7 separate regions of the Homo sapiens genome follow, and all the other regions are linked to region 1. The links are contacts of gene promoters, found by promoter capture Hi-C in blood cells and fetal thymus (Javierre and others, 2016). All regions are on one chromosome and are shown on one strand. Each heading gives the region's core, a stretch centred on a gene start or on the middle of the fragment in contact. The rest is flanking DNA. Distances are from core to core; before and after follow the strand shown.

Region 1 (4,255 bases), core at 1-2,500:
TTGGTTCTTATTTGATCCTAACGCTAAACAAACTAATCATAGTACTAAAGGTAACTGAAGCACATACTCTCCTTCATTATTTAATGCAAATCAAAAATATGTGAGTGTATGGGCATATATACAAACGGGTGCATATAACGAAAAAATATTTCCAATCCACTTAAACATTTTACTAACACGTTTTTCCGCAAGAGATAAGCAGTAGTAAAACAAACGACACTCACAGATTTTTTTCCATACTCATCTAACGGCTAAAATTGGTGGGCTGTCAATTTGCAGAGACAGATTTAAACTGAAACCCAAACCAAAAGCTTGGCTTTCGGTGAATGAACCGCCCAGAACGGCACCTGGCATGAAACTGGTACTCGATAAGTTATCTGAATGAGTGAATAAACAATATGAAAACACTACACATTGACAGCTCACAGAAAACGGTGGAAACGATAATGAAAACCTTACTACAGCTAAAATTTCTATCACTTCCCATGAAACACACATCCTGAGGGCTTCCCAGGATCAATCAACCCCTCATCCCTGCTACTGCCCCACAATCCGGCACCACCTTCCCACGACTCTCAGCGGAGGCCCGGGCCCCAGCAGCCCCGGAAGCGGCGCGGAGGCGGTGGGCAGAGCTCACGGCCGCGGGCAGAACTCACGGCCGCGTCCCGCCGGGTGGGCGCTCGGAACGTCCCGGGTTCCCCGGAGCGCGCCGCCCCAACCCGGCATGTTCCCCAGTTCCCCGCGTCCCCGAGTGCGGTTTCCCTAGGCCTGGAAAGCGCCTAGAACCAAAGGCAGAACATGAGGAGAGACCCCACGCCGCCCAGGGGCCTCCCGCGGCAGAGGCCGACGCCGAGCCCAAGGACACGCTCCCGGGGACACCAAAGCCAAAGGCCAAAGGCCAAGTCCGAGCCCCAGCCCGCGCCCGCGGCGACCCCCGGAGGCCGAAGGGCGTGGGAACCACGGGCGCAAGCCGGCTGCCCACCCCCGCCCCGGGCCGCCTCTCCCAGGAGATTAGTGCAGGGCGAGCGGCCGGAATCCGGGAACCGTAGCCGACAGGCAGCTTACCCACGCCGCGCCAGCCGGGCACGAACCTGCACAACGCGACTTCCACCAACCTTGCGCCAGCGCGCACTGACGCAGCGCCCATGCTCGGTACCCAGGACCAATAGAAAGCTCCGAAGGGGACCTGGGCCAATCACATTGCGCCGCCCTGAGTCGTGCTCCCGCCCCGCGTTTGCTACGGAGGCCCACGACGCCCAGGCGCTTCCGCGACCACCCGGAGTGATTGCCCGGCAGAGCGCGGTAGGTGTCAACGCGGGGTCTCCGCGCAGTTGGTCCGGCTGGGTGTCAAAGACCTGGCCGGCTTTCTCCTCAGGCTGCGCCGCCCGGCCCGTGTCTCAGCGCAGGTCCCCGGGGCGCCGAGTTTGGGGGTGCTCGCCCCGCGGGTCCCTTTCATTCCTAGGAAAACGCGCCGCGGGGCCTCCCGTCTGTCTGTCTTGCACACACGTGTTGCCAAATCCCCCCGCACCGTCTTTAGATCTGGACTGGCCGCCCCACCTTCTCCCTTCATTGATCTATGTTTTGCTTTTTCTTTTCCTACCTTGTTTCCATTGACAAAGTAGACCCTTTCCTTCAACACTAACCTTCTCCCGACACCGAGGGGAAACCAACAGCTTAGGGCCTTTCCAGCGCGTTTTTACCCTTGCCTTGCTCTAACCTCGCCTAATTTTGCCCACTTTACCTGTTCTTTGATTTCTATCCAAATGCAATTTCTTCCTTCAACCAACATTTAAGGGCCACCCTTAAGAGCTACATTGCCTGAGTTTGAACCCTAGCTCTGCCACTTAACCACCTGCATAAACTGGGCAAAGTAACTTTGTGCTTCAACTTCTTCCTCGTGTAAAATGATAGTAAAAGTACTGAATCTGTGTAAGTTAATAGAATACCTACAACAGTGTTTAGCAAGTAATAGCGATTGTTATTGTTCAATGTCAGCCACTCTTCTAACTCTAGGATGCAGAGACTTTGCCCCTCTGGTGTTTATATGTTAACCATCCTTTTTTTTTTTTTTTTTTTTTTTCCAGATACTCGTTTGTAGTTTCATAAACATTGATGTTGGGTCAATCATGTTCTCAATGTATTTAACCATGTGTTTTTAAATTTTTTAATTTAGTTATCAAATTGAGAATCTGATGGTATGGCATTAATCACCTTGAGGAAGAACCTTTATCGTTTATCTGATTTTCAGATGCATAGAGCTCTGGCTGCTTTAAAAAATAAACCTCTAAATCATGTTCACAAGGTAGTCAAGGAGCGTCTGTGCCCTTGGTTGTGTTCACGACAACCTGAGCCTTTCGGGGTCAAATTCCATCATGCCCATTGTAAAAAGTTTCATTCGAAAAATGGAAATGACCTTCATCCACTCGGTGGACCAGTGTTCTCTCAAGTATCTGACTGCGACAGGCTTGAACAAAATGTTAAAAATGAGGAGAGTCAGATGTTTTACAGGAGACTGAGCAACTTGACTTCATCAGAAGAAGTGCTAAGTTTTATAAGCACGATGGAAACCCTGCCTGACACTATGGCAGCAGGAGCTTTACAACGAATTTGTGAAGTGGAAAAAAAGGATGGTGATCAAGGGCTGCCAAAAGAAATACTGGAGAATAGCATCTTTCAAGCTTTATGCTTTCAGTTTGAAAAGGAGCCCTCACAGCTGTCAAACACTAGTTTAGTGACTGCTTTGCAAGCTCTGATTCTGTTGCATGTGGATCCTCAAAGTAGCCTGTTGCTGAACCTGGTGGCAGAATGCCAAAATCGTCTCAGAAAAGGTGGCATGGAAGTTCGCAATCTTTGTATTCTTGGGGAAAGTCTGATTACACTGCACAGTTCAGGTTGTGTGACACTAGAACTCATTATAAATCAACTTCAAGGTGAAAAATTGGAAACATTTACCCCGGAGGATATTGTGGCCCTTTATAGAATCTTGCAGGCATGTACTGAAAAAGTGGATGAACACCAAACATTTTTAAATAAGATAAACAACTTTTCCCTATCAATAGTTTCCAACCTGAGTCCTAAATTGATTAGCCAAATGCTCACTGCCCTGGTGGTTCTTGATCAAAGTCAAGCATTTCCTCTGATTATAAAATTGGGCAAATATGTCGTGAGGCATGTCCCACATTTCACTAACGAGGAGCTTAGGAGAGTCTTGGAGGCGTTCATATATTTTGGGCACCATGACACATTTTTTACAAAAGCCCTAGAGCATCGTGTAGCTGCGGTGTGCCTCACGTTGGATCCTGAAGTTGTCTGCAGGGTCATGGAGTACTGCAGTAGAGAACTGATTCTTTCAAAACCCATCCTCAATGCAGTGGCAGAAACTTTTGTTTGCCAAACAGAAAAATTTTCACCTCGTCAGATTTCTGCCTTAATGGAACCATTTGGGAAACTCAATTATTTGCCACCAAATGCCTCTGCTTTATTTAGAAAGCTGGAAAACGTGCTATTCACTCATTTCAATTATTTTCCACCCAAATCATTATTGAAACTTCTTCATTCATGTTCACTTAATGAATGCCATCCAGTCAACTTTCTGGCAAAAATATTCAAGCCTCTTTTCCTTCAACGGCTGCAAGGTGAGTTGGTTATAAATTCTGACAGTTGGAAAAAAGTAACCTTTGAACTGGCAGTGGTTTCAAGTCACATATAAAGGCAATATGTTGCCTTTAGTTTTTCTTCCATAGTGATCCGAAGATGAGACCTGAAGTTAACAGATGCTGGCATAAACACAGTTAAAGCATGCTAGGAAATCATGTAGAGGGAAGAAAGCTGTCTCAGATAAACTGACTTTTGCCTTATCTGAGAAATTGCAGCATTCTTAGGAGATATGGTAATGGCAGTGGAAATAGCCACATTAACATGTTAGAACTTTTGATGAGTGAGCAACTGTATCTTTTTTTTTTTTTTTGAGAGGATGGTATTATTCATCTTAATTCAAGGCCACCCAAATATGTCAAATTTCCGGAACTCCATAGTTAAAGGAAATTTCCACTAATTCTGTGAACATATTTTATCTCTTTTAATTGTATTCTGTAGCTAGGAGCTTGGGTTCTTGGAAGTCAATTTCATTGGTGGCAAGAGGAGGGCATAATTAATTCTAACAAGTTCATTTCATAGTGTCATTTAAAAATAGAATACTTCTGTCTGGAGTGTGTAAATTGATGTTGAATGTTCATGATGTTCTCTCATACATACC
Region 2 (4,255 bases), core at 747-3,246, 2.5 Mb before region 1:
AAGTCAAAAAAAGAATAGCCTGTTTTGTATACTAGTTCCAATCCCACCACCCAAAACCTCAACAGAGTAACAAGGCCAAGGCTACAAAAAGAGTGAAGTCTACAAAGGGCTCAGCTTAAAGTCCTTTACTAAAAATTAAACCACCGAAGTAGGTTCTGTGGCAGATTGAGGCTCCCCCCCATCAGATTCGTATGCAGTAAAATTATGAATCTTGCTCAGGCCAAAGTAAAATCAATGCATCTTGCTTGTTATGAACGCAAACCTACTTAGAAACAATATGGCAAAGCTCTTCCTGGTTTTCAAAGGGAAATTTCTATTTAATCCTGTAGCAATTTTTGTTGCTGTATTTGAATACCTAATGTCTTTACACATGGATACCTTTTAAAGATTCCACCAAAGAGCTTGGCTCAATAAACAATAGTGGTTTTTTTAATTAAAAAAAAGCTTCAAGTCCTTAGTAATTTTTCAAATTCTTGTGGAGATTGCCCAGGAGATGGGAAAGAAAGAAAGAAAACCACCACCACTGTGGAAGTCAGCCCATTTCATCAAAGTTTTTCTAGCCAACAGTACAGTTCAATAATTTATCCTAAGTGCCTAGTATGAGGAAAAAAATAAAACTCTAAGTTTTGGGGTACATGTTATAACTCTTAAGCTATTATCTATCTTGAAAGTTCTTTGATGTAAGACTTCAAAATCTCTCCACTTACCTTCTGGTGTTAAATCAGTGATAATTTAATATACAAAGAATTATTTTTTATTACTAACAGACTTTAGATTTTAGAAGTCTTAGACTTACAGAAAATATGAAGAGAGTACAGAGTTCCCATATACCCAGCACACAATATCCCCTACTATTAACATCTTATTAGGATTTGTTACACTTTTGTTACACTTAACCAATATTGATACATTGTCATTAACTCAAATCCATGGTTTATTCTGATTTCCTTAGTCTTTACCTAACGTCCCTTTTCTGTTCTAGGATCTACATATATTTAGTTGTCATGTCTCCTTGGGCTCCTCTGGGCTCGGGCAGTCTCTCAGATTTTCCTTGTTTCTGACGACCTTGACAATTTTAAGGAGTACTGGTCAGGTACACTGTAGAATGTCTGTTTACTGGAAATTGCATGATTCATGAATAGACTGGGGCTATGGGTTTTGGGAAGGAAAAAAATCACATGAAGTGGCATCTTATATCATATCATATCATATCAAGGGATATGCCATCAACATGATTTGTAACTGTTGGAGGCCGAAAGACTGAGGGTCGTGATCAACTCAGTATACCACTGGAGGCTATAAGAGTGAACAGCAAACTGTTCTCATAAACGCAGAATGTTGGCAAACTGACAAACTGCCTATGCCACCCAGAAGGAATGCTGAAGGCAGTCACGCCCCAAGCTCAGTTTCTTGTGATTAGGTACATCTGAAGCCTGTTCGTAATAATATGAACGTGTGATCAATTAAGCAGCTGACCAGTCATTATCACCTCCCCCCTGCTCTTTCTACCCAATAAATTCTAAGGGCTGTGGAAGCTAGGCTGCTGCCTTTGCTCCCTAGAAGCAGGGAGCCCTCTTTTTCTTCCCCTTTTTTCTTCCTTTAAAAGTTTCTTTTGTCTTAATTTTTCATTTCTACATTTGTCCCCCTTCACTCAGTCTCATAATGACGGTCTCAAGTAGTAACAGCAGTAACTGTCATAGTGACAGTCTCAAGTAATAACCGTGGCACTATGCCACATGTAACTGTTAATGTTGACCTTGTTCATCTGGCTGAAGTAAACAAGGAATGTTTAATATGTAATTATCAATAAAATTTTTACAATTAGTAGCTACAATTATAGTAGACAATTTTGAAAATATATTAAAAATATTACTCAAAATGTCTGCAGATAACCTATATAGCCCAAAATAGGGAAGCGGCTATATAAATGGTGCACATTCACTATATGGAATGTATACAGTCCCTTAAAAATAGCAAATACAAGGCTGGGCGCAGTGGCTCATGCCTGTAATCCCAGCACTTTGGCAAGATGGATCACTTGAGTCCAGAAGTTCGAAACCAGCCTGGCCAACATGGCGAAACCCATCTCTACTAAAAATACAAAAACTAGCCAGGTATGGCAGCACACGCCTATAATCCCAGCTACTCAGGAGGCTGAGGTACAAGAATCATTTCAACCCAGGAGGCGGAGGTTGCAGTGAACCGAAATTGCGTGACTGCATTCCAGCCTGGGCAACAGACCAAAAAACAAAAAAAAAGTATATATATGTATATATAACTATTTGCTAATATGGAAAGAGATATAACATTTTTAAATGACCACACTCCCTTACTTCCAACTAGGTAAAAACACCATAGCCTAAAGAAGAAAATGCAAAAAAAAGACAGCCACTGTAATTGGTCAGACGAGAACATGGGTAATTTTTCTTCCTTTCTCGTCCCCAAGTAGATAGTGTTTAATTGCTACTTTTACAATTACAGGCAGAAAAAAATGTTTAACTGCTCAAATTTTACAAAAAATATTTCCTTTTTGAGGGTGAGCGTATACCCATACACAAACTATGTGGGTTTGGGAATTAGGCCTTGCAAACACAGTTTAAAAATTCCAATTCTCGGCCAGGTGCAGTGGCTCACGCCTGTAATCCCAGGAGGCTGAGGTGGGCGGATCACCTGAGGTCGGCAGTTCATGACCAACCTGACCAACATGGAGAAACCCCACCTCTACTAAAAATACAAAATTAGCCAGGTGTGGTGGCATATGCCTGTAATCCCAGCTACTCGGGAGGCTGAGGCAGGAGAATCGCTTGAACCCGGGAGGCGGAGGTTGCGGTGAGCCAAGATCGTGCCATTGTACTCCAGCCTGGGCAACAAGAGCGAAACTCTGTCTCAAAAATAATAATAATAATAATAATTCCAATTCTCTATGTACCCCAAAGTTTACTTATTTTAGCTCACCAGATTACTATCGTTACTAAATTAAAAATTCACCTGTACTGTTGCTCCTGGAAGCCTGAAAACTGCACTTTCTGGCCTCCTTGCCAACTAGGCTTAAGTTAGAGTCTGTCAATGAGAAGCACTTCTGTGAGATCAGAAGAAGCAGGGAGGCTGGGTGCAGTGGCTCACACCTGTAATCTCAGCACTTTGGGAGGCTGAGGTGGGTAGATCAACTGAGGTCAGGAGTTCAAGACCAGCTTGGCCAACATGGTGAAACCCCGTCTCTACTAAAAATACAAAATTAGCCGGGCGTGGTGGCATGTGCTTGTAATCCCAGCTACTCAGGAGGCTGAGGCAGGAGAATCGCTTGAACCTGGGTGGCAGAGGTTGCAGTCAGCCAAGATCGCACCATTGCACTCCAGCCTGGGCGACAAGAGCGAAACTCCATCTCAAAAATAAAAATAAAGAAGAAGCAGAGAAACAGCGAAACCATTTTCTACTTGTTTCTAAAAACCAGCAGTTGCAGCTAATGGCAGGTACTGCAGACTCCTGCTAACAGATACGCAAGTCATGGTGGAGATTCTGCCCAACAGCTGTGGGCAACATCAAGCTTCAGCAGCACAGGCAATGAATGATTCCAACAATTTCAGCAGTAATGAGCTAGTTATCCATGTATCCCCTTCTCAACTCCAAATTCTCCCTTTCAGTCCCTGTTCAGTGATAGGGATGCTAAGCTTTTCTTTTCTTTTCTTTTGGCTAGGGGCAGTTAAACTTTGCCAGTAGAGGGTGCTGGAGGGATATCTAAGAAGAAAGGGGTGTTTTCTAGCTCCTGCCACACTATCAGTAGTTTTGTTTTAATGAACACCTTCATACAGCCCTGCTGATGAGGACCCAACACACTCCAGGACTTGCACAGGTACACACAGTGATATCCCAACTCCCTCTGCATAACTGCCCATCAACCTTGGCTCACCTGTACCCGGAAGGTTGCTTTCTGCTCCCCAGAAGAAGTGGTGTACCACTTTACACTCCCACCAGCAGTATATGAAAATTCCAACTGCTCTACCTCCTTACAAACACTTGGTACGGTCAGTCATTCTATTACCATTTTAGCCACACTAATAGGTATGTAATGATATCTCACAGTAGTTTTAATTAACAATTTTATTCAGATATATGTCATAAAGTTCACCAATTTAAAGACTTCAATTGTTTTAAGTATATTTACAGTTACGCAACCATCACCATAATCTTTTAGAACATTATCATCATCCCAAAAGGAAACCCTGTAACTATTAGTGGATACTTCCTACTCCATCTG
Region 3 (4,255 bases), core at 477-2,976, 2.5 Mb after region 1:
TACTTGGTGTCTGCTTAAAACGAAAGCTCTGGAATTAGCATCATTGAGAGGTAACTGTTGATTTAGTTTATTAACATATACTTCCACTGAAATGGCTAATAGATATGGTCTAGAAACCAAGGAGAACTCAAAATGGAAAGCTGTCTATTCTTTGGAAGTTCAAGGCTGTGCTTTTAATTGATGCATTTAACTGTAAGAAAAATGAACTATATGTTCATTTGTTTCTTTTAATTGGAGAGATGTTTGATGGAATTGTTTGTGACTAACAGTGTGTTATTCAATGATATGACCCCCTGATTATTAGGTATTAATTTCCAGACCTGTGATGTAATGCTACCATATGCCCACAAGATGTCTGTCTTTCCCTGTGTGTTTTCCACATAAATAGAATTTCCGACGGTATTAGGACTTAACCGAACCTTCTTGCTGAGGGGAAAGGCCATCCTCTGGGGCATCCTAGGGTGGAAGGCGTCTTGTGGGAACCACTTTGCTATCCGCCCACACACGTTCCACCAGGCTTAGTCCTAAGCTGTCTTTGCTCCAGTTTTTCTCAACACTCAGGGTTATAGTGGTGGGGTTTCGACTTGTCCTCAGACATCAGCAATTTGCTCACAGCCTCAGCTCTTACCCTCAAAGTGATTTGAAGCCAGAGAGTAAACATGTTGCTTCTTCCTGAAACACTGATGTTACTTAGAAACCGGACAAATAAAATTTAGTTTTGAAACAATTAGTTTGAAATAGAAAGCAAAACTGATATGATTATTAAGCAAAATTTTCTTCAACCTGAGAAAGCTGATTGAGAAAAGTAAAAAAAAAAAAAGCAACATTTGAAAGGACTTTCACAACTCTCACATTGCAGTCGCCCTCTGTAAAGGAGGACAAGCCCACTCTGCCTTGCGGGTTTGTGAACACCTGGCGGCTGTAAGAGTTGGTCACACGAGAAGCTTCTTGTAGCTTCCGGGATCGGAGGAAGAAGGCGGCAGGTGCTCAGAGGTGACAGGTGTTGAGGAGGGGATTCTCTGTAGAGCAGCTGGCAAGGGCATGTCCCACCTAACTCTGAGGAGGGATAGGAAAGGGAGGGACATGTTTCCCCTTCACCTGAGGCCAGTGGGGGGTCTCCTTGGTTTCTAGACCACATCTAGCAGCCATTTCAGTGGATGTATATGTTAATAAATTAAATCAACAGTTGCCTCTCGATGATGCTATATTCCAGAGCTTTGTTTTAATCAGTGCCCCCACGAAGTGAAGCACTCAGAGTCAGATGCTACATGCCCTAGAGTGGTTCCAAGGGAACCGTGGGACAGCTCCAGGAGATGGGTTGGAGGTGACTGAGCCGCATGCTCACCCGCACTGGGATGAGCAGGAGTTCTGCATACTGGATACGGTGGGCATTTCAGTGGGAGCTGCGAGGAAAGCGAGGCTGAGGCAAAGTGAGCAGCCAGAAATAAAACTTTGCTCTTCCATCCCCCATTCAAAGAACTGTAGCTGGATGTCCACAGCTGGAAAGTCCTCACTTTGAACTGTATCCACACAGCACCAGTGGCAGCCACTCACCAAAACTTGTTTCTATTCTGTCTAGTTATTCCCCAGCCTCCCTGCACCTGACATGTGATTAAGTTCTACCAGCCAAACATCAGCAAAAGGGGCCTGGCCCCTAGGGCCTTCCTGTGCTCTTTGTCACTTCCTGCTGACTGGAAGAGGGATGAATCCCAGGACCCTGAGCTGGTGGTTAAGTTACTGTCTCTCGGCCCCACACCTTCCCTTTTATACTCTGCCTTGTGACGTAGGGACTGGGGAGCCACGTGCCACCTCTCCTGCCAGAGTTCTGTTCAGCTGTGCCAACAGATATACACAAGGAAACCAGAAGATAAGAGGTAGGAGAGGGGCCTGTGCCTCCCATTCTGTCCTGTCCGACTCCTGGTCCTGCTAGCGTCTTGCTATCCTTGCTTTCGCACCTGGCAGTGGCAGTTCATGAACAGAGCGGCATACGAATTGGGTCTGCAGTTTCTCTGACACACGCAGAGCCAGCCTCATAGCATCCCCTCGGAGATACCAGCAAAGTTGGTTTCCCAGCTCCACAGAGCCCTGAGTCCAAGAGCAGAGGCCTCAGCACCAGCCCAGAAGGTCCCTTCTTCATATGTCTGAGTGTGATTTCTGGGTGGCAGCTCCTCCACATTTCTGAGTTTTGCTCACTCCTTCCTCCTTCTTTTATTCTCTCCAGCCCAAGGTGTCAGCTGCTTCTTGCGGTGGCTCCTCCTGTGATATTTTAGTGTTTTGCTTTTACCTTTTCTCTCTTAAAATAATCTGGGTGTAATGTGGGTCTCCTGGCTGAGCTCTGCCCCAGTCCTGTGCGGAAGATGCTCTTCCGTCCCAAGGAGCTCGCTGCAGGAGAGAAGCCCACCCCACCAGCCTGTTCTTTGTTCTTGGACTATGACTCAAGCACTTTGGGAAGCCAGGTTACAAAGACTGCATCTTTTTCTCCTGATCCCTTCTCCTACCCCAAGCTTGGAGGGGTCACAAACAAGCTGGTGAATAAGGAAAATGTTGGAACAGAGGAAAAGCCTGTCTTGCCCCATTCCCACCCACCCACACCCATCTTGCTAGCGTCTAAGAACGGCCACCAGCTCCATGGGTAAGAAGCTAAGTTGAAGACAGGAAATAAGTGACAGCACATCACACTGGACTGTGTTGTCTCCGAGTGACTGGAAAGGCTAGGGTGTGTGCCCAAGACTGCATCTGGGGTAAGAAGGAGCCCAGAGGACAAATCCCACAGACAGCAATGATTTAAAAACCAAGACATGGAGGAAGTGACTTTATGATCATCTTCTGCTCAGTACTGCCCTTGCTGAGGCATGTGCAGCCCCTTCTCCTCCTCCTCCTCCTCCCCCTCCTTCCCCCTCCCTCCCCGTCCTCCTTCCCCTCTCCCTCCTCCTCACCCTCCTCCTCCTCTTCCTCTTCATCCTCCTCCTCCTTCTGACTCACCTCCCAATGAATTCCTCAGTTGTTGTGTGTGCCCAGCTCTCATCCTTCACAGTGCACAGCTCCAATCAGCCCCTCTGCAATATTGGGCTTGGCGTGCAAGTGGCACCCCCTTCCATCCTAGGCAGTAAATCCAACCAGTTCTCTAAGGTCCATTCAAGTCCAGTTTCTATGGGAAATGTCCTTGATAGAGTTTTGAATATCAAACTTTTTTGGTTTTTTTTTTTGGTATCATTCTTGGTCCTTCCCTTTTTTTCCTTTGTCTCCTCGCCACATATAAGCAGCATGAGTTCTGTTGGTAAGATAGCTGTCTGCCTGTCCCACCACAGCCATCATGGTCGCTGCCATCCCTGGCAGCCGGTTCTGTCCTGGGTCCTGCGAGGAGCATCTCCCTGCAGCACGATGCCTGCATGTGCCCCTGTTCTCCCACTTGCTAGGACCGAAAACTGAGGAGTTTGTCTGACTCCTCTTTACTCCCACGCCCTGTCACGGGGTCAGCCAGCCATAGTCAGCATGTGTGTGACTCCCAGCACCTCTCACTGTGTGCATCATCCTCTCCAGTCCTTGTGCCCTGACATCCGTGCCAGTGGGCAGAACCCACTCTACTTACTGTCATGTCCCCAACACCCAGACCGTGTCTCCTAAACATCAGTTACCAAGAAATGATTGCTGAATCAGTAAGCTGAGTGAATTAATACATTAATATGTTAAACAGCTGATATCTGGGTAAAAGTATAATCCAGTGAGGTTAAAAAGCAAAAGCTGCAGCAATCATGCTCCTTGGTCTTTACCGAGATGAGTTGAAACTTAACATCACACACAATCCTGCACATGAGTTGAAACTTAACATCACACACAGTCCTGCACATGAATATTTAAGCAGCTTTATTCAGAATTGTCAAAACATGGAAGAAAGCAAGATGTTCCTTTAGTAGGTGAATGGATAAATCAACTGGGATGCATGCAGACTGAATTAGTCTGTTCTCACACTACTATAAAGAACTGCCCAAGACTGGGTAATTTATAAAGGAAAGAGGTGTAATTGACTCACAGTTCCACAGGGCTGGGGAGGCCTCAGGAAACTTACAATCATGGAGGAAGGGGGAAGCAAACATGCCCTTCACATGGCAGTAGGAAAGAGAAGTGTCAAACAAATACGGGAAAAGCCCCTTATAAAACCCTCAGATCGTGTGTGAACTCACTATCATGAGAATAGCAACATGGGGGTAATCACCCTCGTGATTCAATTACCTCCCGCTGGGTCTCTCCCACAACA
Region 4 (4,255 bases), core at 881-3,380, 2.4 Mb after region 1:
CAACATTTTGAATTTCCCATACTGTACTTCTTGCAGATTCAAAAATAACATTCAGCAAGTATCACATTCAGTTTCACATTATTCGTAAACCTAAAAAACATGCCACATCCTCAGTACAAATTAAGAGAAACCCACCCACTAAAAAGCTTATGAGACGTTAAGAAAATCACAATCAACAAGAAAAGTAATCTCATTTTTAAAACTCATCATTAAACATGGATTAAGAATAAAAGGACTGTCTGTTTACTGTGCTTGTGAGACATGCTCCCTACTGAAGCCTGTTAAGTACTATCTTCCAGAAGGCCTATGAGGAACAATTCTCACATCTCTTTCAGGAATTAAACATAAGTTAGTTCCAAAACTCAACAGAAAAAGCCAGTAAAAGGATATCATCACATTTCTTCTGATATTCTGTTAACAAATTACTGCAAAAAAGAAAAGAAAAATTAGGTTACTTTTTAATTTAGAAAATATACTATGTTAAAATTATGTTTCAATCCATGCAAGGCACCCTCTAGACTTCCTAGATTTCCTGAAACAAATGCATGCTAAATTAATGACTATATCACCTTAAATTTCTCAAAAGCATCACGTTGATATACAAGCCTTTTATTTAGAAACCTTTAGATCTGAGTAGTATCTTGGCTCATACATTCATGAGACTATTACAAAGCTGAAAACAAAAAAAATAGGAAATCTCACACCATGGCTATAAAATACTGTTAGGAGGTTTGAGGTCCAGCAGTAAAGCTAAGAAGGCTTTGAAGACAGAAAACAGATTTTTTAAGAAGTCCAGTTTGGTAAAAACAACTTCCTACTAACCCACGAGCTTTGTTTTAAAGGCCTGTGAACCTGTAACAAAAGGTTCAAGTCCCAAAGCTCACGGGGAATTATAATCAGTACCATGCAGGCCTCCAAAGGAGAAACTCTAGTGTTCATTCCAGCCCTGGGGGCCTAAAAGCACCGCCTGCTTCAGCCAGTTTGTCAGGTTTACAAAGTTCTGCCAAACGACATGCAAATATACTTACTCTGTATTGATAATTTTTTGTTTCAAGGTAATTAATGCTTCAACATATTCATTCAAATTCTGAAAGAAAAAAAGCCACAGTCAGCTTTTTTATCAATTACTTTAAATATAATTATTGTCTGTAACATTATTTATCATATCTAAGAATTTTAATAATTATATAAACATAGAAATGTTAATGCATTACTTATATTGTGTAGAGCACAATCTGAGCCTATGGTGCCTCTCTCCAAACCTGTTTATCTGAATGATAGTACTCCTTTAACAGCAAGGTAGTTAGTTGTAAATATGCTTTTACTGTGTGCAATTAGCCACAGAGCTCAATAAATATTAACTATTTTTAGTTTGCTATTAATCATCAATCTTTACCCTGCATTGTTTCTGAGAGGATTTAAGGCTACCCCAAAAGACACATAAATCATAAAAAATAACAACAAAAAAGAAACCATGGGGGAGATGAATAGAAATATTAAAATGGACTAAGATTAAGTGAAAAAATATATAAGGATCTAGGCCGGGTGCGGTGACTCATGCCTATAATCCCAGCACTTTGGGAGGCTGAGGCGGATTACCTGAGGTCAGGAGTTCAAGACCAGCCTGACCAACATGGTGAAACCCTGTCTCTACTAAAAATACAAAATTTAGCCAGGTGTGTTGGTGGGCACCTGTAATCCTAGCTACTCAGGAGGCTGAGGCAGGAGAATCACTTGAACCTGAGAGGCGGAGGTTGCAGTGAGCCGAGATCGTGCCATTGCACTCCAGTGACAGTGAGATTCCATCTCGAAAAAAAAAACAAAAACAAAACAAAAAAAAAAAAAAACACAAATTTGGCTCTAAATTACCGCTATCAACCCAAAAGGAAAAACATCCTTAGTTACACTGTTGAAATGTTCCTAAGATTTTAAAATGAGCTAATTTTTTCTTTTCATTAACTTCTTTCCTTTAATGTCTCCTTTTTCCATCACTAAATACTTCAGAAATAAGGACTTACTTTTAAACATAACCACAATAGCCCTTCACAAGTAATAATTACACCAAGTAATAATTTGAAATTATCCAAACTATGTTCAATTTTCACTGATTATCCCAATAGTTTTCCAGATAATCCAAATGATTTTGATAGTTACAGTAATATTTCCCTTTATGATAATGTCTGCCTTTTCTTCTCAGTTATGTTACATATCTGTTAAAACATCTACACATTAAAATAAAGTCAAATGCATAGTTTCTCTTGTAATCTCACCATCTGTCAAAAATCACTCAGCGTGTTTTTAACTTTCAACTTTCAGAACTGCCACCACATATATAAAATATATTTTTGGATGTACTCCATCTATCAAATTGTTGTTGAGGGAGGTTTAGGTCCTTTTCCAGTCTTTACAGACAGCATGCCATGAATTTCCTTGCCCATTCCTTTGTCAAACAGTTCTATTTTTCCTGAGAATAAAGCCCAAATACTGGTACTGCTGGACCAGACTTATGCATTTCAGAGGTTTACACTGAAAAAGGTAAAGGATATAAACTGTCAATTCACAGATTAAGAATTTGGAATAGTCAATAGACATTTTTTAAAAAACGTATTCCACCTTTTTCATATCAGGAAATGCAAAACTAAAATAACAAAAATTTACTTTTCATCCACTAGGCTAGACTAAAATAAACATATTGGTAAGGATGTAAGGAAAATACAATTCATACTATGGGTGGTAGTATTTGAAGAGCATTTTGGCAGCATATAATGAAATCAAAACACACACAGTGATAATTTTTTCTATTTTTCCTCTACGCATTCCTGAAGGATGTTTTCTACATCCTGGTTAGCTTTTACACCCTAGCTTAATTTGTTTTTACCACTAGCATGAGTACTATCTTTATGTTGCTGTTTTTGCTATATTACATTTCCTAATTGGTTCTTAAGGGTATGCAAAAATATTACTAATTTTTGTTTGTTGATTACAGTAAGACCAGCTCATTTTACAACAATGTCACTTATAAACATACACACAAAAGATCTAAATAAAATATATGCAAAGTAAATCCAGCAGTGAATAATTTATCTGCAGATTCTCTTGGGTGTGTTATGTGAATAGTTGTAACATTCACTGATAATTTTATCCTACCTTTACTCATGCCTACATTTCATTTGCCCTCCTTCCTGAACTGACTAAGGCTTCAGCACAATATTGAATAGTAAGGGTAATAACAGGTGTCTTTGTCTTAAAAGTTGGAATTAGTTAATTAAATTTGCTCTGTTCCAGGTTATTGGTTGATATCCTTTAATCATGTTATGAAACTTCTACACACAGTCTGCTAAAAGATTTTCATGTATAGGTATCAATCTTCATCAAATAAATTTCTGTATTTAGTTTGAATATGTATTTTTCTCCCTTTATTTATTAATTTCAGTGAACTACAATAGATTTTCTAATGATAAAGCAGCCTTACATTCCTGGGGATAAAAGTAATTGAACACTATGTTAACATTATTTAAACACACTGAGGATTCAATTCCCCAATATCCTACTTAGGTTTTTTTTTTTCATCTATGTTCATAAGTGATATGCCTATACCATTTTTGCACTAAAATTACTAGGATGCCTTTCCCTTGCTAAAAACTGTAAGGAGGGAGTAAACTAGGAACACCTCTCATGCATGAATAAGACTTTGCTAGGTACAGAATTGTTGGGTCACCATCTGTTAAGCGTTAAATCATGACCTGTCCCACAAAAGACATGCTTAAGTCCTAACTCCCAGTATTTTAGAATGACCTTATTTAGAAATAGGGTCTTTACAGATATGATCAGGTTAAGATGAGGTCATACTGGACTAGAGTGGGCCCTAATCCAGATTTCTGGGCAGAGAGGGTGGATGCATGCATTTGCTTTTATTTCCCTCCCTAAAACCAGCTAAAAATACAGTCAAAAACTTTTTTTTCAAAAGGCAAAACCAACAAGGATGACAAGAGGATAAAAGACAAACGGAAACTGGAAAGCAGACTCAAGAGTACTGATTTAGCACCCAAGAAAGCCAGCAGTGGGGAAAAGTGAGAACCAGCTCCATTTATACTGCAAAACTTCAACAAGCTTGAGAATCAGTAACATGGATTCTTTTGAGAAGGTGAAGGGGAATGGAACTAAAACAAGCACTAGTTGCAAACTTTCTCATAAGCATTTAATCCCAATCCCCAACCATCCACCATGCCTCAGAGAAATCACTCCTCCCCCATCC
Region 5 (4,255 bases), core at 542-3,041, 2.4 Mb after region 1:
TGGAATTTTTACACATTTTCAAAGAGATGTAAATTCCTAAAATAGTTAAGAACCAGTAATTCAAATTGAAAGGCCAAGGGATGCTGTAACTAAGACAGCCCTAATGAAATAAATGTAACATTAAGAATATTATACTATGGTTTTAAAGCTTTTCTACATTAATACAAATTTCAAAACCTTCTAAAGCAAAAAGTATTTATGAAAATATAACTATGAATAGCTTGTGGTGAAATGTGCATAAAAAGACAACCCACACGAATTAAAATTCAACTAAAAGTAGCTTAAGTATATGTATACAACTTTCAGGCCACCTAAAAAGTTTTATTAGAGTTTCCTTGAACTTAAGTTTTTTAATTAACCTTAAGCATTTACTGATATTAGTGAAATCTTTACTCCAGTTCAAGAGAAGCTTAAAAGACCAAACTTTAAAAACCCAAATGTCTCAGGGAATCACAGATTTTGTAAGAGATTAGCTCTACTTAAGCTGGCAGACTGCATCACTTCAAAAAATGAAGTCCACAGAAAGGGGCAGGACAACTGTGGAGGACAGTTCACGGGTAAGTGTGAAAGGCTGGACACTGCCAACTCTCCTGAGCCAAAACAACCTTCTGATTGCCACTGTGTGTGAGCCATATCCATTTTTCAGTTCCAAAATTCTGTGATCGAGTAGCTTATCTACATTGTGATATAACCTACCCAAAAGCCTGCTTCCAAATACTGTAATCCCCTTTGCTTAAATGACCTGACCAGGATCCCTGCTTATTACGTATACCCAAAGCAGCAAACAAGGAACCTTAAAAAAAAAGAAAAAAAGTTACTTTTCCATTCTTATGGAGGCTATCATCCAGAGCTATGCCTTTGTAACTGAGCATTCATTACTGCTAATCTGACCCAAAAAATAAATAAATAAAAGCACTCTATTCCCAACAAAGCAGAAAAACATCTTCAGCGTTAACTTCACACTTAGTTGTGAAGACAACACCTCCTTCAAGTGAATTGCACAACTTTCCCTGATCCTTTAAAATTCTGCCTTTATCAAACTCTAAGGCATGTATGAATATTTAAGGACTTACATATTTATTTATTTAATTTATTTTCTACTTCATTGCTTTGTCATTTTCTGTATCCATACCACACTTCTTTAATCAGGGTAGGTTACTGAATATCTGTTAGAGCGTAATCATTATTCAGTTTTCTCCTGTTGAAAAATTGTATTATTCTGAACATACACTTTTCCCTATAAACCATCTGCTTGTGCTCTTCCATAGAAAACATCTATGGGACTTTGAATATTTCTGTATATTTATAAATACATTTGGGGAAATTTTACATCTTTATGCTTTGAATCTTCTCATCCAGGAACATGTTTATGTACTCAGGTCTTCCTTAACGCTTTTAAGGAATGTTTCAGTTTTCCTCAGAAACACTGTATACTGCTTTCAGGTCTTTTCTTAGACATCTGCTGGTTCAGGTGCCACTTGAGAATGGGTTGTTCTTATTCCATTCCTTTTCTAACAGGTTAATAACGGTACAATGTATATGTTCATTGTATATGCCAGCACTTTACCAAGCTCTATTACTTCTAATTCCAACTCTGAGTCTTTTAAATTCTCTACATTAGTAGTATCATCTGAAATAATGACAATTTCAACTTTTCTTTATTAGTATTCACAGATCCTACTCTTCTGCATTTATTCTGTTGCACTGGTTCAGGCCTCCAGTACAAAAAAAAAAAAAAAAAAAAATGGAACAAACAAAAAGCATGCTTGCCTTGTTTTTGACAGTAATAACTATACTTTGAATGTTTCACCTTTCTCAAGTTAAAATTTTTTTTCCATTACCTCATCAATTTTTTGAAATTGGGACTACGTGCTGAATTGAGATGATCACAACATTCTCTGACCCAGCTGTAGTATTCCTGAGATAAATCTTCAAGCATAATTTGTCTGTACTCTAAATTTGTGGATTTAATTTCTTAAAATTTTATTTGGTATTTTTGCAGCTATATTAACAACACAAGAGTCCTGAATCTTGAGAACATGTGTGCATGCTATTTGATTTTGGTACAGCATTATGCTAGCCTAAGAGAATAAAATGGAAACATTCCTTATTTTCTAAGTTCTGAAACAAAAAAATTAATAACAGAGACACTAGTTTTTCACTGAACGTTTACAAAGCTCACCTATAAATTATCCGGATTTATTATGGTGTTAGATCTTTAACTATTGTTAAAAATTTCTTCCTATTTTTTGTTCAGGTTTGTAGCAATTGTTCTGAGTCAATTTGAGCATGTTTTCCTTGAAAATGGACCATTCTACTTACATTTTCACATCTGAATATGAACTTGTGAATTATGAAATTTCTTGACTGTAGTTTTACCTGTTTCTCAATCCTGGTGCTGTTTTTCCTTCTGTTTGTTTGTTTAATCAAAGTTTACCAAAGAGTTGTTGGTTTCACTAGCATTACAAAGAACCAGCTATCAGATTTAATTGTCCTAAATCAATTGCTTTGTTTCCTATTTCATTAAGTTTGCATTTTCATCAATTTTTTCTTTCAGTTAAACACTTCATTCTCCGTATTTATTTCTAAAGTGACAATGTATCACGTAAGGCCTTAACATATTCCTTTGAATAGTGAAGGAATTGGCTATATCTTAAAGATTTTAATAAATATTGCCCTACTGTTTACTTTCAAAACAGTTTAGTATTTCAATTCTTATTTTCTCTGTTACCAAAGAGAGGTTTTTTGTGTGTCTTATGTGAGTTTAGTTATTAGGTAAGTTTTGCAGGTTTTGTTTTTGCAGAGGGAGGGGGATTTTTATTAAAAGCTCATATTAAATTGTAGGTATTTTTTATTGTTCACTTACTAGTCAACTTTTATACATTTGAAAAGTATTTTAACAAACTCCAGGTGTGTGGTTTACAAACAGTTGTATATAAATTATCCATTTGGAACTGTGATTCCAATTCCATCCCTTGTCTGCTTTTGCTCTCTCTTTCTAAAAAACATTGTGAAGTCTCTCACGACGAAAATAGATTTGGCCAGTCCCCCTAGATTTCCAAGAGTATTGCTTGACATCGTTTCACACTCTTAGGTACATACTAGCAGTATCTTCATGGCAAACTATACTTTTAATCAACATTTCAATAATGTAAATTCATTTCTAAGCTTTTATTATTTTTTACCTTACATGACTGCTTTAATGTCAGCATTGCTTGGAATATTTTTATCCATCCCTCTAATATTCAGTCTGTTTCATTTGATTTTAGGTATATTTCCTACGAAGGTGTCAGAGACGGAGACTGTACACAAAAATCACGCTCAACACTTGGTGGCCCCTATGAATATGAATATTCCATGTGTTCTCTGCTCAGGAAAGTTCCCTTCTGTCATGTCTTGATCACCTTCTCTCCTTCTGTTTCTGTTCTCCCCTCTGAGAAGTCCTAGGAGACGCATATTGAGACATCTGGCTCTATCCTCCAAATCTTGTTATTTTCTCTAATATCTTTAATTTGTTTGTCCCTTTGTATGATGCTCTCAACCGCCTAGGATTCAGTCTCTAGGATCAACTTAATTGATCTTTTATTTGTTCATCCAGTATTTCCACCTTTCTACTGGGTTTATTTATACAATTGGATTTTTAATTTTCAAGATCCCTATCTGGTTCAATTTCATAGCAGCAGCCTATGGACATGTTCTTAGACTTTCTCTAAAGGAAATGCAATCAGTTTTCAGCATTTCCTTCTCATTCATAATTAAAGACTGTTTCTCTCAGTCTTCTTGCGTCTGTTGCTTTTCTCTTTTTTCTCACTGCTTTTTCTCTAAGTTTTAGATGAGAGTTTAGGCAGAACATCTTTGGCAGACAAAGTGTATTTCTTCAGCCTACATTTTTAGTGCTATTCCTTCAGCAGTAAATGTAGATTCTCATTTCATAAATCTGTGGGACCCTGCCTTGCAGGGGAAGCAGTGGAAAGTGGACGCAGTTGTGAGGGTTTACATGGAGTATATAAACATCTTGTTTTCTGGGAAGAGGAGGGGCTAGCCCTTAAAGTGGCCATAATTACCCAATTTTCTGATATCCACGCCCACTCTGAGGAGCTCCATTGTCATAGCTAAAACTTTAGAAAATGAAACTGGGGCCACAGTTTATGAGCAAAGGCCAGAAACAGTTTTTGAAACCAGAAGCTTGGCATTCCTTTCACCCTTTAATCAATTACCTGGCAAAATGCTAATGTCCTGCTCCTTCTCCCACTCC
Region 6 (4,255 bases), core at 921-3,420, 2.4 Mb after region 1:
GTAACAGTTAACTTCATTTATTTTCTGCTAAACAACTAAGACATTTAAGATACTTTAATGAGTACATGTTTTCCAAAAAAGCTAGAGATATTTGATTCTGAGTTTACCTTTTCATTGACTTTTAAGACTGTGATTTTACTTTGCATATTTTATTTGTTCCCAGATTGTCTAAGAATGTATATCTCAATTTCAAAGTAAATGTAAATATTTTGAATTTTTTTTCTGTTAAATTTTACTGAATTATTACCAGGGAATTTTGAGTGTCAAATCTTTGCTTTTAGAAATGAATGTTTTCATGTGGCCAATTCATCATTCATTTGTGCAAATGTGTCATAGATATATAAAAAATACATATTCTTCATACACATTTACTTTTTAAATTAATGAACTGTACTATGTCCTCATTTTTGTTTACCAGATGTTTAATTCTGTAAGTGAGTATTTGGAAATCCTGTAATATAATGGGGTTTTATTCCCCAAGTATTTCTCACCTTTCTTAAAGCTCTATGTATTTTTATTTGATACAATATTTAGCAAATACATTTACTAAAATGTTATGTTCTTCATAAGTAATGTCTTTTTAACCATATCCTGCTTAATTCTGAACAGGTGAAAGGAGATGGGCTCTAGTGTGCAAGTGGAAAGACCAAGTGAGAGCAGAAGCAGGCTGGACAGATAACATTCTGAAGGCGGGTAACCCTCTGAAGGCAAGTAACTCTCCAGACACAGTAACTCTCTAGGAACAGGTAACCCCCTGTAGGCAGGTAACCCTCTGGGAACGGGTAACTCTCTGGAGGCAAGTAATCCTCTGGAGGCAAGTAACTCTCTGTGAACAGGTAACCCTCTGGGAACAGTTAACTCTCTTGGGGCAGGTAATGCTCGAGGCAGGTAACTCTCTGGGAACAGGTAACCCTCCAGAGGCAGGTAATTCTCTGGGAACAGGTAACCCTCGGAAGGCAGTAACCCTCAAAGCAGGTAAGTCTCTGGAGGCAGGTAACCTTCCAGAAGCAGGTAACTCTCCGGAAGCTGGCAGCCCTCTGGAGCAGATATATATGTGGTTGCTGGTATCCATTAGTAGGAGTCAGGATGTCTCTCCTGACACAAAATGACCAACTAGAATTTATGACAATACCTCACATGAATCTACTCTGTTGTGTCTAGATAGATTGATGAAGAGATCATTACAAACTTGCTTTTTAATATTTACCTAACTTTTGACCACCAAAAGCTCTTTCCTTTACGTTTTATAAAAAATAAAAGCCTAACAAATACTAACATCAAAAGTAATAATAAAAAAAGGCAAAACAGCATATAAAATTCTGCTCCACACATAAGCCCAGGGGAGTTTTTAGAAGAGGAAATACATGCTCATTAAAAACAGAAAATAAAATTAAAAAATCAATATCACTGGCTTCAGTACCTCTTCTTGAAGTTCGCTACCGGTAGTTAGACTCTCATTAGGTAAAATGAATGAATGAAAGAAAATGATGAAAGAACACCCATCTAGACACTTACTTTAACATATCAATAACTGAAAATAATAATAAAAGATAACACGGGAACAAACTAGTCAGCATAAAAACAAATTCTATCAACTGGAAAGAAAAATTAAGCATATTAGATTTTAAAAATCCTAATAGGAAAAAACTGAAATATATATATTTTTACCTAAGTATCTATTGAAGAACCAAATAATTTTGTAGCTTCTCTGAGACTTTTAAACATATACACCTATGCGTGGGTTTCATCAGTCACAAATTAGTGTATAACACAAACTGTTAATTAACACAATCCTTTGGTCTACAATTCTTCCTTGAATGTCTCATGCATTCTTAATTAACAAAATGGATAAGCTTAGGCTAAACTGATTAAATTTTAAAAGATCTAGAAAGAAGAAAATGCCTATGAACTAATATAAAACTAAATACACAACAAAATAATTAACATTTATATAATATCTAAAAGTAAGATACTGTAAGAAACAGAAATATGGCTCACCTTTTCCCAATTAAGAAAAGCTCTCAAGCAGTTCAGAACCTCTCCTTTAGCACGTTGCCTGGCAACTAACTGCATTGCTTTATTAATCACCGATTGAGAGAGAAATATATCATGCCACATGTTTGCAATAAACAAAGTTAATTTTTCAGACTCCGGAAAATCTATCAGAAATAAAATAATACAATAACTCTTTGATGTATGATCGAGTAAATAAATTGCAAATTAAGAACAAATTGTATTAATTTCACTGGTGCCTTGCAGGCATCCTGCAATGGAGGAAGCTGTAAATGGGGAGCCCAGATGAGGCTCCAGTCACAGTCATTTCCAAAATCCGTTCTCCAACTTCCTCAGTCTCAGAATTCTCCCATTTGGTATGTGTCATTACAGGCAATTTTTATGCATTACATAGGTTTTGCATTACATAGGTTTTGTATTACATTACATAGGTTTTTATGCATTACATTTACTCATTGAACACATAAAGCTTCTGATTTGAAGAATTTTTTAAAATAAATTCTAGATGACAATTCTTTTGTTGTAAATACTTTCTCCTACACTCTTTGTCTCTTTTTTAAAAATTAATTGAAGTGTAGTCTACAGACAATAAAATAAACTCTTTTAAAGTATAAAGTTCAATGAATTTGGATAAATGATTAAATCCACGAAACCACCACCACAACAGTCAATACCATCATTTCAAAACTTCTCTCGCTCTCGTGCTCTGCAGTATATCACCTCACCCCAGATACAGAGAAGCCCTGATCTATTGTCACTATACATTAGTTTGCCTTTTCTCAAATATTTATTCATGGATTTGTGAAGTAGGTACTTTCTTCTGTCTGGCTTCCCCACTCAGCATGTTGGTTTTGACATTCATCCGTGTTGTTGCATGCATTGGTAGTCTATTCCTTTGTATAGCCAAGTAGTATTTAACTGCTTGATATATCAAAATGTTTTCCATTCACCTGCTGATGGACATTTGTTTCCAGTTATGGGCTCCTATGAGTCAAGATGTTACATCCGCGTGCTAGTTTATGTAATGATGTCATGATCTAACTCTGTGTTTCTGCTGCGTAAGTGCCTGAGTGGAATTTCTGAGCCATAGGATAAATGAATGTTTTAATTTCATAAGAAACTGTCAAAGAGCCTTCCAAAGTAAAGATTTTTATCCTGTTTGCTGTACAATCACATCTTTTTAGTTTTCTTTGTTCTACTTTATCTATCACTGACACATCTAAGAATAGATAGCTCAAAGCATAAACTCACTGCACTAAACTTCATCTGTTAATTTTTGAATCCTATGTTTATCTGGTGACACTTCAGAGTAGAAACAAGACAAATAAATTCTCTCCTTACAGAGTATACAAGCTAGAGGAGCAGAGAGACAGCAAACAAAATATTTAATCTTTAAGAAGTGGTAAGTGCCAGGAAGGCAAATAAAGAAAAATAAGGGATCCAGGATGACTAGGAAGGTATGTGAAATTAATGGAGTGAAACACAAGAGTTGAGGGAAACAGAGCAAGAAAGCTGTCAGCACAAAAGCTTGAGCTAAGAATGGGCTTGCTGTGGTTGAGGAAGAAGAAGAAATCCATCGTGGTCCTGGCCGAGCCCACACCCGTTCCGTCCCACCACCCACCAACTGCTGAACTTCATGTGTGTTTTTGTGATATGACTATGGCCTGTCAGTCCCACTGGACAAGTGTACCTCCATCTGATTTTAATCACCACAGAAATCCCAACATTCACTCCATAATGATTTGTTGAATGAATGACTGAGAGAGTAAACAAAGAAATGAAGTGGGCAAATGAAACACTTCACAGCTTCGTTCACAACAGTAAAAGTGATGGATATACTCAATTATCCTGATTTATAAGCCCCATAAACATGGTAGTCAAAGATGGTAAATGTTTACCACTGAGATAAGACTGATACGATACTAGGTTTCATTTGTATATCATATGATTTAAAAATACTGATGATTTGATACAGCAAAGAATGATTCCCAGTCTGATCCACTAGTAGGGATGGAAGAAATAGTAAAGAGAAAAGAGAATCAAAGGACAACCCTCATGTCACCGTCTCCTTTCAGCTTTCTCTCATCTACTTCTTTTCATCAGCTTACAATTCCATCTTAAAGTTGCTGCCCTTTCCACCTAGTGGTACAGCAGTTTGGCTTGTCACTTACTTTAAAGTATCCCATACTTTAAGGCAACTATATCTAATTCTAAAGCAGCTGCACAGAGCATAGAACAAATA
Region 7 (4,255 bases), core at 1,756-4,255, 2.4 Mb before region 1:
AACTGTAGATGCATCACGAGACATCCATTTACTTAATCACAGAAGTGGATCTTGCTACATAGTTTTCTCAATGTCTTCATTCTTCAGATTCTCCAGGCTTACGAATGTCATCAATCTTCAAAATCATTCTAACCATTTGTGTTGCAAGAGATATCTGTTGCTTTTTGCCAATCAAGGTTTCTATGACATGCTGTTGCTTCATATCTGAAAAATACAAGGACACTGATTATCCTAAAATAGCATACAATAAACTATCAATAACCAACTCTTTCTGATTTAGGGAATCACAGTAAGACTTAAGAAATACAAACTCCTGGAAGCCAAGCAGGAAGCCACTAATTTCAGTTATATTTCATTTTCAGATGAATGTAATTTCATTACTTCCAAGGACACTCTGGAACTCGCACCTGGTAAAGAGAGCTGTTGGGAGGGCACTGTCTTCAATGACTAGCTACAGGGTGACATTTTTCAGGAACATCTTATCCCACAAAGTATCCATACCCTAACTTAGGAAATCTAAAGTAAGTCCATCTGACCACAGCTGAAATGTAAGATATTTCCAAGAAAGATCTAGAAATGCTAATTTTTTTTTTGGAGACAGGTGTCACCCAGGCTGGAATACAACAGTGCGATCTCAGCTCACTGGAACCTCTGCGTCCCGGGTTCAAGCGATTCTCCTGCCTCAGCCTCCCGAGTAGCTGGGATTACAGGTGCCTGCCCTGACCAGGCCTGGCTAATTTTGTATTTTTTGTAGAGATGGTGTTTCACCATGTTGGTCAGGCTGGTGTCAAACTCCTGACCTCAGGTGATCCACCCGGCTTGGCCTCCTAAAGTGCTGGGATTACAGACATGAGTCACTGCGCCCGGCCCTAGAAATGCTAAATTTGAGCACAACCAGGCATTCAAGTTAGAAACATTAAATGTTTGCCTCACAAAGAGTTGCTACTATTGAAACCCTTGGAATTTGAGCATGGAAAGCAGAATGTACCTATACCTTTAAGCAAAAGCTGTCATTCTGTGGATGGATTACAGACATGGCCTGATTTAGTACAGAAATGCCTGAGACCACTGTTTCAACAAGCTACAGCCACCATATCTTTTTGGGAGCCGAGCTACACAAGTGGCTACAGAGGTTATATATTACATTTAGAAAACACTCCACAGTGTGCAGGATTAACCACACAGTGAACTGTGAACTAAAGCCCACTTCAGAGCTGTTATATATATGCTGCCCACTGACAGACATCTGTGTAAAAACAGCAATAAGGCATTACTTCCCAAAAACCAGAGATTAAAACCTAAGTCATCTTTGGTGATAGTACCATATGCACTTTACTGTTATTACAATGAGTCTCATGTTGCTAGGTCTAGTAGTCTAACCAATTCCTACGGCAATCAAACATTCTAAAATTCAGGACTTGAACACCTGAAGTGGGCTTACATATTTAAAAAGACACCATCATCTCACAGCACATACAGTGGATGATTATTCAGTTTAAATCAGACATCCCCCCCCCTCCACGCAGAGGCGTGACAGCTCCTCACCATTTGTCCCCTTGTGCAAACAGTCGATGCCAAGAGCAGGGTTCATCTCCTTCACCTGTCTGGCTCGGACTTCGGTCATAGTCTGGATGGGATTCATGCCACTGTTTTCAGAGAGGGCCATGGGGATGACCTCCAGTGCGTCGGCAAACGCTCTCATGGCATACTGTTCTAAGGTGGGGCACTGGAAAGGTACAGAAGTATGGTGAGTGCACTTGGCGAAACAAAACAACCCAGCGGCACCGTGAAAACACAACTGTATCACATACTTTGAAAAGTCAGCTCACAAAGAATTGTAAGAACAGGCTGTCTTTATTTTTGTATCTATCAGAATATTATAATGTCACCACAGAATACAGGCAGAGGGTATACATACATGTGAGAGATGTCTCAAAATACAGCAGCTCTTATGGCTTTATTTTTAAGTTATAATATTAATTTTGAATTTCAAATAACATTAAAAGACTATAGATTTATTATTTCAAGGACGAACTGGCTGAAAACAGCTGAGAAATGCTAGGTTATGGTAACCAGAATCTGAATACAGGAACGTGGGAATTAACTTAGATTAAAACACCTGTCACCTACACACAGCTCACGATGCTTGTTTTGCATCCAGCACCTCGCTGTTCCGCAGCTTCACAGTCTCCACCATCAGCGAGGCCTGAATCTTTCACTAAGTCTGCACAGATCCCTTACCTTATCCGCCTCTTGGCTAACTGCCAGGGCACAGGATATCTCAGCAGCCCCTCCTCCATACACCACACGATTATCGCGGATGAGGTTCCGGATGACACACAAAGCATCGTGAAGGGATCGTTTCGCCTCCTCAATGATCTAAGGAAAACAGCTTTGCCTGAATTAATGTGATCAAGATCTAGTCAATTTAGAGCCAAGTATCTGGCACCTTTTTAAAGACAGAGAGGCTGTGCTCTAATATTTAGATGGCCTCCACTATCGGATAATATTTATCTTTCTAGCTTTCCTTCCTGCAATGTAGTTAACAAAATTCAAGAGGCAGAGGCGGCCAGTGACTCATTCTAGGATACACGGTCAAGCAAGAGTCAAAAACTGACAAAACTCGCAAAGATTTATCACAATGTGCTAAAAACTCATTCTCAAAGAACAGAGATCGTCAATGGTTATTCACTTGGGTTCCCTTTTTCTACCTAAGGGACAGATGTAAGTCATCCTTGGTAATAATACCATATTGTAATTAAAATGAGTCTTATGTTGCTAGGGCTAGCAGTTTAACCAACCCCTAATGTAACTGTATCAAACATTCTAAAATCCAGGACTTGAATATTTAAACTGTGTTTAAGTATTTAAAAAGATATAAAAATCTCATAGTGTATATTGTATACTCTAAGGGACAGCAGAAAGGCAAATGTGCCTTGTGAAATTAACAATTTAACATGGTCTTCAGTAATTTTACACCATGATACGTCATTGTTTGAGAACCACGATTATTTTTCTTATGGTGACTGTGTCTCTGTTAAATACACACAGGCAAAAAAGCCAGACCATGAAGCAAAATAAGCAACAGTATAGGACAAATAGTTGAATTCTCACCATCTTATTTCCTCCTCTAATAAAAATGGTTACAGCTCTGGAGTTCTTACACTGCTCGATGACCAGCATTTTATCCTTAGTTGTCCCAAATGAGATCTCCTGTACAAGACCAGCAAAGCCCAGCTTCTCGGCTGTGAGCTCTGAGAACCTGGGGACGATCCGCCCTCCTGTTGCGATGGCAATCAGCTAATTGGGGTGGTCAGGGAGAAGGATGAAGACAGTACTGGTGAAGTTAACTTTCAAAACTGGGCCACAAATGAGCAAAACTTGATCTAAGACCAACTTGTTCACTAGAACTGCTGCCCCACTTTGACCGAGACATCTCCAGTTCAACCCAAAGCACCTTGCTAGGTAACAAGGCTCTTGAGCTGGACGTCTTGATTGGGGCTTTGGTGCTGCCCAGATCTATCACCCGGCGCCCGTCCCCTAAGCTCATACCCTCATCTCCCATCTGTGCAGCCCTCCCTCACTCTGGGAACCCAGCCTGCATGTTCCTTGCACTGCGCTGCAGTGAGAACCACCGAGGCACCGTTGCCTGGGACTGCCATTAGTATTTGGATGAGACCAGGTCTTCCAGCCTTAGTAAGTCAACGACAGGGCCAAGTGAGACAACACAGGGAGAGAATTTCAAAATGCCAGGGAACACCAGAAACACACAGCACTGTTATCCAAACAGTAACAAAGATTCCAGCGCTTTCCTCTCTCCCAGCTCACCCTCCCCTCATCTGCCAGCCTTGGTGTGATGCAGTTATTTAAGGCAGGGCTATCAAAACACCCCTCAACACATAAGATGAACCCCTACTTCTCAAAGTCTCTTCACGTGGAACATCCTACCTCAATTTCAGGTCCTCCTACCCAGCGAACCGCAGGCAAGTTGTTCTGAAGAAGTAAGTGATTTGCTTCATCATCAAAGCCCCACTGACAAATTGCTAGGTTAGCACCAGTCTCTTTAATCTGGGAAAAGAACCACCACAATCGTATTAAGAGAAAGTGGGTATTTATTCTTCATTACAATGTTTGAAAAAAGGAGAGGCACAGTTGGGTGTAAGGCAGGTGCACTCAAACACAAAAGCAAAGGAAAGAGAAGGAAGGAAATAGACAAGTGTCCACTTTTCTGTCAGTTCCAAATTCTAAATAGTGA

Evidence for each region. Contacts are between HindIII fragments. The CHiCAGO score rates a contact against its expected background, and 5 or more counts as called.
Region 2: a contact is called between a fragment that was not itself captured here and the fragment with the promoter of FASTKD3 in region 1, in 5 of 17 cell types (naive CD4 T cells, naive CD8 T cells, activated CD4 T cells and 2 more). The highest score is 10.4, in naive CD4 T cells.
Region 3: a fragment that was not itself captured here is called in contact with the fragment with the promoter of FASTKD3 in region 1 in 9 of 17 cell types (naive CD8 T cells, non-activated CD4 T cells, total CD8 T cells and 6 more); the score reaches 21.2 in naive CD8 T cells.
Region 4: a fragment that was not itself captured here is called in contact with the fragment with the promoter of FASTKD3 in region 1 in 7 of 17 cell types (naive CD8 T cells, total CD4 T cells, non-activated CD4 T cells and 4 more); the score reaches 20.0 in naive CD8 T cells.
Region 5: a fragment that was not itself captured here is called in contact with the fragment with the promoter of FASTKD3 in region 1 in 6 of 17 cell types (total CD4 T cells, naive CD4 T cells, naive CD8 T cells and 3 more); the score reaches 10.7 in total CD4 T cells.
Region 6: a contact is called between a fragment that was not itself captured here and the fragment with the promoter of FASTKD3 in region 1, in 8 of 17 cell types (total CD8 T cells, total CD4 T cells, total B cells and 5 more). The highest score is 18.2, in total CD8 T cells.
Region 7: a contact is called between a fragment that was not itself captured here and the fragment with the promoter of FASTKD3 in region 1, in 7 of 17 cell types (total CD8 T cells, total CD4 T cells, total B cells and 4 more). The highest score is 12.8, in total CD8 T cells.

The regions. Positions count from the first base shown.
Region 1 is chr5:7,866,026-7,870,280 of GRCh38, reverse strand. It overlaps FASTKD3 (FAST kinase domains 3), which reads left to right and starts at 1,250. Exons shown (of 7, transcript NM_024091.4): 1 at 1,250-1,302; 2 at 2,085-3,635. The coding sequence starts at 2,198. It overlaps MTRR (5-methyltetrahydrofolate-homocysteine methyltransferase reductase), which reads right to left and starts at 1,133. Exons shown (of 15, transcript NM_002454.3): 1 at 1,066-1,133. RefSeq lists silencers at 631-680, 741-790, 801-1,240. The HindIII fragment of the contact is 2,367 bases long and covers 314-2,680 here.
Region 2 is chr5:10,363,951-10,368,205 of GRCh38, reverse strand. The region is part of intron 1 of MARCHF6 (membrane associated ring-CH-type finger 6); the gene reads right to left. Among named protein-coding and RNA genes, the nearest start is that of MARCHF6-DT, 12 kb to the right of the region's middle. The HindIII fragment of the contact is 3,100 bases long and covers 447-3,546 here.
Region 3 is chr5:5,415,644-5,419,898 of GRCh38, reverse strand. All of the region lies in intron 2 of LOC101929200 (a long non-coding RNA gene), which reads left to right. Among named protein-coding and RNA genes, the nearest start is that of ICE1, 4.9 kb to the left of the region's middle. RefSeq lists an enhancer at 547-616. The HindIII fragment of the contact is 1,560 bases long and covers 947-2,506 here.
Region 4 is chr5:5,433,250-5,437,504 of GRCh38, reverse strand. It overlaps ICE1 (interactor of little elongation complex ELL subunit 1), which reads right to left. Exons shown (of 19, transcript NM_015325.3): 2 at 1,029-1,087; 3 at 391-425. Among named protein-coding and RNA genes, the nearest start is that of ICE1, 13 kb to the right of the region's middle. The HindIII fragment of the contact is 3,964 bases long and covers 149-4,112 here.
Region 5 is chr5:5,449,654-5,453,908 of GRCh38, reverse strand. The region is part of intron 10 of ICE1 (interactor of little elongation complex ELL subunit 1); the gene reads right to left. Among named protein-coding and RNA genes, the nearest start is that of ICE1, 29 kb to the right of the region's middle. The HindIII fragment of the contact is 2,759 bases long and covers 412-3,170 here.
Region 6 is chr5:5,466,732-5,470,986 of GRCh38, reverse strand. ICE1 (interactor of little elongation complex ELL subunit 1) reads right to left here. Exons shown (of 19, transcript NM_015325.3): 15 at 1,999-2,159. Among named protein-coding and RNA genes, the nearest start is that of ICE1, 46 kb to the right of the region's middle. The HindIII fragment of the contact is 629 bases long and covers 1,856-2,484 here.
Region 7 is chr5:10,260,605-10,264,859 of GRCh38, reverse strand. It overlaps CCT5 (chaperonin containing TCP1 subunit 5), which reads right to left. Exons shown (of 11, transcript NM_012073.5): 7 at 3,949-4,068; 8 at 3,115-3,300; 9 at 2,242-2,379; 10 at 1,546-1,726; 11 at 1-204. The coding sequence ends at 77. Among named protein-coding and RNA genes, the nearest start is that of CCT5, 12 kb to the right of the region's middle. The HindIII fragment of the contact is 8,542 bases long and covers 1-4,255 here.